3 separate regions of the Homo sapiens genome follow, and regions 1 and 2 are each linked to region 3. Evidence: promoter capture Hi-C in human tissues and cell types (Jung and others, 2019). All regions are on one chromosome and are shown on one strand. The core of a region is centred on a gene start or on the middle of the fragment in contact, and the rest is flanking DNA. Distances in the headings are between cores, read along the strand shown.

The links. Contacts are between HindIII fragments. The study calls those that stand out against the background at their distance.
Region 1: the fragment with the promoter of ARRDC2 here is called in contact with the fragment with the promoter of BST2 in region 3 in 1 of the 25 tissues and cell types used here (heart right ventricle).
Region 2: a contact is called between the fragment with the promoter of IL12RB1 here and the fragment with the promoter of BST2 in region 3, in 1 of the 25 tissues and cell types used here (stomach).

The regions. Positions count from the first base shown.
Region 1 is chr19:18,006,753-18,009,898 of GRCh38, reverse strand. ARRDC2 (arrestin domain containing 2) reads right to left here and starts at 1,729. Exons shown (of 8, transcript NM_015683.2): 1 at 1,315-1,729; 2 at 1,122-1,188; 3 at 781-928; 4 at 205-307; 5 at 1-116. The coding sequence starts at 1,588. RefSeq lists an enhancer at 1,456-1,675. The HindIII fragment of the contact is 21,109 bases long and covers 544-3,146 here.
Region 2 is chr19:18,085,682-18,088,462 of GRCh38, reverse strand. It overlaps IL12RB1 (interleukin 12 receptor subunit beta 1), which reads left to right and starts at 1,529. Exons shown (of 17, transcript NM_005535.3): 1 at 1,529-1,703. The coding sequence starts at 1,640. RefSeq lists enhancers at 1,198-1,257, 1,268-1,617. The HindIII fragment of the contact is 62,137 bases long and covers 1-2,781 here.
Region 3 is chr19:17,404,156-17,407,205 of GRCh38, reverse strand. BST2 (bone marrow stromal cell antigen 2) reads left to right here and starts at 1,576. Exons shown (of 5, transcript NM_004335.4): 1 at 1,576-1,915; 2 at 2,769-2,835; 3 at 3,017-3,050. The coding sequence starts at 1,631. BISPR (BST2 interferon stimulated positive regulator) reads right to left here and starts at 1,520. Exons shown (of 4, transcript NR_130766.1): 1 at 1,435-1,520; 2 at 910-1,129. It also overlaps a transcript of MVB12A not described here. RefSeq lists enhancers at 565-614, 815-864, 915-974, 1,165-1,544, 1,615-1,674 and 1 more. The HindIII fragment of the contact is 15,018 bases long and covers 1-2,368 here.

The DNA of each region.
Region 1 (3,146 bases), core at 480-2,979, 600 kb before region 3:
TTTCTGCTTTCGGGCGCCTCGGGCCATGAACGTCTGTGTCTGCACCACGGCTGCCCGAGGCAGCACAGGACGTGTGGAGCCGTTGTCGATCTCGGCAAAGACAGGGATGACCTCTCCTGCAGCAAGGAGCAGTGGGGCCTCAGTTTCCCCTCCTGCAACCCCAACACCAGCCCCCGTCCCAACCCAGTCCGGTCCGCCTGCTACCTGGGGTGTAGCCCTTGCGGTCGATCTTGGCCGAAAGGGAGACTAGGCCACGGTTACAGTACCAGGATCGGGCAACCTTTTCCCGAGCCCCCGCTTGAGGTGCCTGTCGGTGTAGAGGAAAGTGACATGGATGAGTCACTTTGTGCAAACCACAGTCGCTGTGGAGCTTCCAAACCACCCCCAGCTGAGGGAGGACTTTGGGCAGGGCTTGGTTTCTTTTTAACAATCCAGGAACTATCCGTTAAATAGAGCCAGGAACACAACCCATCTTATAAAGCCAGAAATGAAATGTATAAGCCAAGTGTTTGGTGTGTAATTCACACTTGGTAAGCCCTAGCTCTGGTCTATTTCACAGAAGAGGCATCTGAGGCTCAGAGAGGGCTTCAAGACACTTGCCCAGAGTCACACGGCAAATGGGTGCAGATCCCAGTGGATTCCACACGCATTCCCACACCTGCCTCCCTCCCTGCCAGGGCCCACCTATGACCTCCATCTTATTGGTTGGTGTCGCCCAGCAGCCAGGCAGGCCCCTTCCTACAATACTCCCAACCTACCTCCCCAAGGGTGGCCACTCACCAGCAGGGCTGGCGTGTTGATGTCCACAGGCTCGATGACAGTGAACACCTTCCTTGCCCGGCGTGCTGGGACCCAGGGCCGGTGCAGGGTGGCCTTGATACAGTAGCGGACACTACCGTGTTTGCCCTCGAAGGATGTCACCAGGGTCCTAGGGTGGAGGGACGGGACTTCAGGGGACAAGATACAGAGACAAGCAGGCAGGGAGAAGGAGACACAGACACTCCGGGGGCCTCCCAGGGGGAGAGTCTTGGGGCTCAGAGGTGCCCAGATATCCAGTATTGGAGGTACCAATCTGGAAGGGGCTGCAGGCTTAGGGCAACCCTGCACCCCAGAGGACTTACGGGGGCAGCTGGAAGCTGAACAGGAACTCATGGCGCCCAGGAGGCAGCGTCGTGGTCTCCCCGGTATCTGCAGGTAGGAGAAAAAGGAGGCGACTGAGCGGTTGCGCTGGGGTCCCAGGGCTGACGGAGGTACCGCCGTCCAGGTGGTGGGAGGCACACAACTGGTGTTGGAGCAGGGGTCCTCCATCCGTACCTGGCGCCAGGAGCGTGGCGCGGTGGCTCACGACCTCCACGCGTTCACTGTAGCTCTGCGTGTAAGCCGTGCTCGAGCCCGCGCTGCGCGACTCGGTCCAGTGCACGTGGGCGCGGCCCCGCGCGCGCAGCCTCAGGGCACCCACACGCGCGGCGCTTGACAGCTCCAGCAGCACCCGGCCCGCCACGGCCTGGCCGCCGCTAAACACGGGCTCGACGCCCGCGGTCGCGCCGTCCAACTGCACCGAGAACGCTTTCACCTTGTCGAATAGCATCGCGTCCGGGGTGCGAACCCACGACAGGCGGAACCTGGCCTCGAACTCGCGAACCGGCAGCTCAAGATGCCGACGCTGCAGCCTCAGAACGCAAAATCGCCGTCAACGCGCAGGCGCGCTCACCAACCGGAGCAGAAAATCCCCGCGCCGTGCGTCGGCGCCGCTTTTATACGGCAGGGCGGGGGGGGGTGGGGTCACCGTCTCTTCCCCGCCCCGGGAAGGGACTCCACCAATAGCGCGACAAGGGGCGTGGCTCTGCCCAGGCGTGGAGCAAAATAACAAACGCCCCTGCTCACCGCCGGCTGCCCCCTTCCCTCGCGGACCCCGGGGAGAAACTGAAGCCCTTAGGCTGCCAGAGCTGGTCTCTCGCGGACCCCGGGGGTAAAGAGGAAAAAAAGAGGTGCAGAGGCAGGGCCCAGGCCTGAGGTCACCTAGCAGAGCCTTCAGCCTCTCGGCTTAATCACTCACCAGCCGCCCCTCGTTGACGTGACTCGAGGCATGTCCAGCCCGATTTGGGGCGGGGGACTCTCGCCCCAGTTGAGGGCCAGAGAGCCTATGACTGTTCCAGGCCTGTTTCCCCCGCTATGCAAAGGGAGAAGTGGAGGAGGTGGGTGGGACCGCCCTCCACACTGGTGCCTGCTGCACCCCTTTCCTGATTCAAGTCCCGCTTAGCTGGTGGCTCTGGGCAAATGACAACCTCTTGGAGCCTCAGTTTCCACCTCTGTAGAGCCGGGAGAAAGTAAAAATCAGTCCTGACCTCAGAAGGTTGTGCATGGATCATCGTGCAGCCCCAGCTGGACTCCTCCAAGAGCCTCGCTCCCGGGTCATCAACCTGCTCTTGACATACCGTCACTCGGTCGCGCCTCGGCGCATTCGCCCAGGAGCGGTACCTACGAAATGATGTTCCCTTCCCAATTTTCAGCCTCTGGCAAACCCTACCTTCCCCGCAGCCCTTGTGCCTGCTCCAGTCATCCTCAGCCCCCGTCCCGCCACAGAGCTGAATGCAGGGGACGCTCGGGCACCCCCAGGTCCACAGCTGCGGTGTGGCCACGGGACGGCGTGACCTCTCTCTGGGCTTCAGTTTCCCCAAAGAAAAGTCGCATGGAGTTTCTCCAGCGGGAGTTGCCTCTGCGTCGTCTGCGGGACGCTGGCGCCCTCTCGTGGCAGCGTAATGCGCTGCCGCTGAACCCATCCCCTGCCGTGACTGTCCGCCTCTGAGCCTGGCTCAGGAGACTTCCACCACCTCAGTGAGGTGTGTGGGTGGAGGGGGCGGTCATAAACAAACACGGTCACCCTCAGCCCGTGATGGGGATCGGAACAGGAACGACGGAGTTGGAGGCACAGTGATCAGCCTGGAAGGCTGCCTGGGAGGATGGGTCTTTGGAGTTGAAAGGAAGGTCTGGGACCTTAGGCCAGGTTTCAATGGATACTAGAGGGGAGACAGTAGGCCGTTAAGTCCGGGAGGAGAAGCGGGATTAGGTAACCCTGAAGGGACTACTGAGCCAGCGCCTCCCTCAATTCATTTCGCAGACGGACCCCAAAGGCCCAGAGATGGGTG
Region 2 (2,781 bases), core at 280-2,779, 680 kb before region 3:
CCTCCTGAGTAGCTGAGAATACAGATGTGTGCCACCACGACTGGCTAACTTTTAATTTATATATATATATATATTTTGAGATGGAGTGTCACTCTGTTGCCCAGGCTGGAGTGCAGTGGCGCGATCTCGGCTCACTGCAACCTCCACCTCCTGGGTTCAAGCGATTCTCCTGCCTCAGCCTCCTCAGTAGCTGGGATTACAGGTGCCTGCCACCACACCCGGTTAATTTTTGTATTTTCAGTAGAGACAGGGTTTCACCATTTTGGTCAGGCTGGTCTCAAACTCCTGACCTCGTGATCCACCTGCCTTGGCCTCCCAAAGTACTGGGATTACAGGCGTGAGCCACCGCGCCTGGCCTAATTCTTTATTTTTTATAGAGATGGGGTCTTGCTATGTTGTTTAGGTAGACCCAAACTCCTGGGGTCAAGTGATCCTCCCACCTCGACCTCTCAAAGTGCTGGGATTAGAGGGGTGAGCCCAGGTGCACAAGGCTGGAGCTTGGCATGTGGGGAGGTGGGCATTGTGGAGGGCCAGCATGCTGCAAGCTCTTTGTAACAATTTGTTGGAAGGATGAAATTAGGCCATCCAAGAACACTGCCCTCCTTCAGCTCTTGAGTCTCAGATTCAGAAGCTGGCGAGATGGCCCGGTGCGGTGGCTCACGCCTGTGATCCCAGAATTTTGGTAGGCCAAGGCGGACGGATCATTTGAACCCGGGAGTTTGAGACCAGCCTGGGCAACATGGCAAAACCCCCTCTCTTAAAAAAAAAAAAATGCAAAAATTAGCTGGGCGTGGTGGTGCATGCCTGTAGTCCCAGTTCCTGGGGAGGCTGAGGTAGGAGGATGGCCTGAGCCTGGGGAGGTTGATGTTGCAGTGAGCCGTGATTGCACCACTGCACTACAGCTGGGCCACAGATCAAGACCCTATCTCAAAAGAAGAAAAAAAGAATTTGGCAGCCAGGCACGGTAGCTCACGCCTGTCATCCCAGCACTTTGGGAGGCTGAGGTGGGTGGATCACTTAGGGTTAGGAGTTCGAGACCAGCCTGGCCAGCATGGTGAAACCCTGTCTCTACTAAAAATACAAAAATTAGCTCGATGTTGTGGCAGTTGCCTGTAATTCCAGCTACTCGGGAGGCTGAGGCAGGAGAATTGCTTGAACCCGGGAGGCAGAAGTTGCAGTGAGTGGAGATCATGCCACCACACTCCAGCCCGGGCGACAGAGCAGGGCTCCATCTCAAAAAAAAAAAAAAAAATTGGCTAGAGAGGGCCAGAGACCTGGCCAAGTGCATGGAACCACAGGTGGCCCATGGGCCCATGGGGCTGGCATCTGGGTGTTCAGTTCAGGTCTGGGGCCAGCAGGGCAGAACCCCCTAGAACCCTGACTTGCTCCAAAGTCAGACTTGCTCCAGAGTCTGTGGCCGCCACCATCACCACCACCACGGAGCTGACTTCCTGGGTTTCTCTTTCACTTTGACTTGCCTTAGGGATGGGCTGTGACACTTTACTTTTTTTCTTTTTTCTTTTTTTTCAGTCTTTTCTCCTTGCTCAGCTTCAATGTGTTCCGGAGTGGGGACGGGGTGGCTGAACCTCGCAGGTGGCAGAGAGGCTCCCCTGGGGCTGTGGGGCTCTACGTGGATCCGATGGAGCCGCTGGTGACCTGGGTGGTCCCCCTCCTCTTCCTCTTCCTGCTGTCCAGGCAGGGCGGTGAGTCCCCTGACCCTGGCATGGCGGCTCCTCTTGCTGGGTGGAGGCACGTGTATGTGTGGAGAGCTGTGGGCCTGCTGTGTGGGTTGGTTTCATCTCTCTGTGCCTCAGTCTTTCCTGCTGTCAAATGGGAGATGGGCAGTCATGGCTTCTGGGATCGAACTTAGACATCTTTCCTCTGGTCTAGATTTTCTCTTCTGTGAAATGCACTAAATTTTTTCCACCTCCCGGAGTTCAATGAGAAAAAAAACTAAGGAAGGAATAAAAAGCAAGTATGTATCTAATAGGTATACATAGTATAGTATCTTATGTATGTAGTTTACAATAGATAGACATACATAATATAATGTATACAGTCATTTCCATATTTACGGGGCAATGGTTCCAGGACCCTCTGCAGATACCAAAATCCAAAGATGCTCAAGTTCCTGATATAAAATGGTAAAGTATTTGCATATAACCTATGCACATCCTTCCGTATACTTTACTTATTTATTTATTTATTTATTTATTTATTTATTTATTTATTTATTTACTGAGGTAGGGTCTCACTCTGTGTCCCAGGCTGGAGTGCAGTGGCCTAATCATAACTCATTGCAGCCTTGACCACCTGGGCTCAAGTGATCCTCCTGCCTTAGCCCCTTGAGTAGCTGGGACTGCAGGTGCACACTACCATGCCTGGTTAATTTTTTTGGTGTATACTTTTTACAGAGACAGCGTCTCGCTGTGTTGCCCAGGCTGGTCTCGAACTCCTGGGCTCAAATGATCCACTCACCTTGGCCTCCCAAAGTGCTCAGATTACAGGCATGAGCCACCATGCCCAGCCTTCCCATATACTTTTAATAATCTCAGGCCCTGCACGGTGACTCACTCCTGAAAATCCAGCACTATGGGAGGCCAAGATGGGTGGATCACTTGAGGTCAGGAGTTCGAGACCAGCCTGGCTAACATGGTGAAACCCCATCTCTACTAAAAATGCAAAAATTAGCCAGGCTTGATGATGGGCACCTGTACTCCCAGCTACTTAGGAGCTGAGGTGGGAGGATCGCTTGAACCCAGGAGGCAGAGGTTGCAGTGA
Region 3 (3,050 bases), core at 327-2,826:
TGCAGGGCTGGGACTGTTTACAGCTGCAAAATTTAGAGAGGACATCAATCTATTATTATCCACATTTTACAGCTGGGGAAATCAATGCTAAGAGAGGAAATTCATTTGCCCAGAGGTGCACCACCCTGGCCTCCAATGTGCAATTCATGCAATTGTGATTTCCGACCTGGTCCCAAACTAACCCTAAAGTTAGCAGGCCAGAACAGTGCTGCTCAAATAAGTCAGCTTAGTCAAATAAGTCAGGCAAAGGTCGTGTCTTTGCACCTGGAGTCCTGGCCAGGCTGGTAGGTCCCTCCTCCTGGGACAAGTTCACCCTCAGAATTTTCAGCAAGATCATCTCCCACAGCTTGTTAATTGGTTCTTGGTTCTAAGTGATTTTTTTGTTTATTGGTTTAAGAGATGGGATCCCACTCTATCACCCAGGCTTGAGTGCCGTGGCACAATCATAGCTCGCTGCAGCCTCAAACTCCTGGGCTCGAGTGATCCTCCTGCCTCAGCCTCCCAGCCTCAGCCTGGGACCACAGGCATGTACCACCATGCCTGGCTCTAAGTGGCTTTAATGGGGTCCTTCTGAGGGATGTTGGAGTCAGGGCCTGGGGGGAGTTCCCCAGGCCTTCTGGGAGGCCTGGGCTCTGGACTTGACCTCGCCTACTGTCTGGCCCTGCTGAAAAGAAAAAAAAACATGGAAATGGCAGACCTAACAGAATCTGGGCTGTGGTCAGGATGTGGCTGAAGAAGCCACAAGAAAAACATGCAGTCCCCTTTCAGCGGTCATGCCCAGCAGTTGGGTGCCGATAATGGGCCTGATTTCCTGTAGGAAGCCCTGGCTCTCTTGGCCACATGGACAGTGTCTGAGGCTGGCCCTGTTATTCCCCTTTGCAGATGAAGAAACAGGCTCAGAGAGTTTACCTGGTATCCTGGAGTCCCAGGAGCACTTTTTCTGGAAGTAGGAGCTTGTTTCCTGCAGGTGCCAAGACAGAGACCGACATTGTTTGTTGGCTGGGTCGGTCTCCCAGTTTTCAGCTGGCTCCAGTCTCACCTGTTGCTCACACACCCTCCATGTCTCCCATAGTCCCCTCGGTGGGGACAGAGGCACTGGATGAAGCCCTGCTCGTCACCACAGAGACACCTGAACACAAAAACCAGTCCCTGGGGTCAGACCCAGGCCCCGCCCCCAGACCCAGGCCCTGCCCTCACTCCACCACGCAACTGTGCAACCTCAGTTTCCCCAGGTGGAGACCGGACCAACAGTGATGGCCTCTGCCTCTTCAGGTCATAGTACAGATGAATACAGGCTGGCACGGCCTAGGCACTCAGTAACACACAGCAGAGGCACAGGGACTTAAGATGGAGTGTCCCAGGCAGCCACAGTTGGCTGGCACCCAGCTGGGAAGGGCCCAAGGGCTTTTAAAGCAGGGTGAAAAAAAAGCCCACCTCCTTTCTGGGAAACTGAAACTGAAAACCTAATTAATCCTCTGCCTGTAGGTGCCTCATGCAAGAGCTGCTGGTCAGAGCACTTCCTGGAACTTGCTATTGGTCAGGACGTTTCCTATGCTAATAAAGGGGTGGCCCGTAGAAGATTCCAGCACCCTCCCCTAACTCCAGGCCAGACTCTAAAGGGGAGATCTGGATGGCATCTACTTCGTATGACTATTGCAGAGTGCCCATGGAAGACGGGGATAAGCGCTGTAAGCTTCTGCTGGGGATAGGAATTCTGGTGCTCCTGATCATCGTGATTCTGGGGGTGCCCTTGATTATCTTCACCATCAAGGCCAACAGCGAGGCCTGCCGGGACGGCCTTCGGGCAGTGATGGAGTGTCGCAATGTCACCCATCTCCTGCAACAAGAGCTGACCGAGGCCCAGAAGGGCTTTCAGGATGTGGAGGCCCAGGCCGCCACCTGCAACCACACTGTGGTAAGCTCCTCAACTCCTTTGGATGGCCTAGTACTAGGCGGTGGGAGGGACAAGAATCTCTCCCCAGAAATCTGACCCAGGGTGGGTCTCCAGGGAGATGCAGGGGAGGTCCTGAAACTGCTCCTGGGCCCCCACATCAAGGGACCTAGGTTCCCCTACCAGGGTTTGTGGGCCCCTAACCCAGTCCAGGGCACTGGTGTAGGGGCAGGGTGTTAAAACTCTCCAGATCCCCCAAATCGGGGACCTCAGTATCCCCCTGGGACTTAGGTGAATTTATAAATTCTTTCCAGGGCACTGGTGTCGGGGGCCTTGAAACTCCTCGTGGGCACCAGTCCTGGGGGAGTAGAAATCCCTATTCAGGGTTGAAGGGGGACCTCACCAGACCCTGAAAAAGGGGGCTTTTGAAATTTTCACTTCATCCCTAAGAAACTGAAATATTCACCTGGGTCCTGATATGGGGGATCTTGAAACTCTCGCTGGGCATGTCACTTGGGCGGGGAAATCCCACTGCATTCTGGATTTGGTAGGGCCCTCTAACTTTTCTTGGGCCATTGCTCAGGCAATCTGGAAATGTCCACTAAACTTTGGTTATCGATAGCCTCCAAGTTTCCACGTGGGGTGGCCTCAAAACTCCCATTTTGAGGACCCACATGCTTATGGGTGGCCCTGGGAGAGTGTGTGGTTGTGGCTGTTCTTTAAGGTTGGAGACCATGGTGCAGAGAGGGTTGGAAGAAAACCTGAAAGGGGTTTGCATTTAAGCCCCTCTGTCCCCAGGACCTAGGGAGGAGGCCCAGGTCCCAGGGGCAGCAGCCAAACTCCCCAGGCCAAAACCCCAGATTCTAACTCTTCTTAGATGGCCCTAATGGCTTCCCTGGATGCAGAGAAGGCCCAAGGACAAAAGAAAGTGGAGGAGCTTGAGGGTGAGAAAGGGAGAAGGGAGAGGGCCGGGGAGGGGTGAGTCAGGTATGGAAGAGGGGGTGGGGGCAGGGAGACCAGGGCTGGAGGTTGGGGTAAGGGGGAGGTTCTGTCCCAGAGTGGAGCAGGGCCCCAGCATGGCCACATGCTGACCCGCCCCCTGTTTCTGTCCTCCCACCCTACCAGGAGAGATCACTACATTAAACCATAAGCTTCAGGA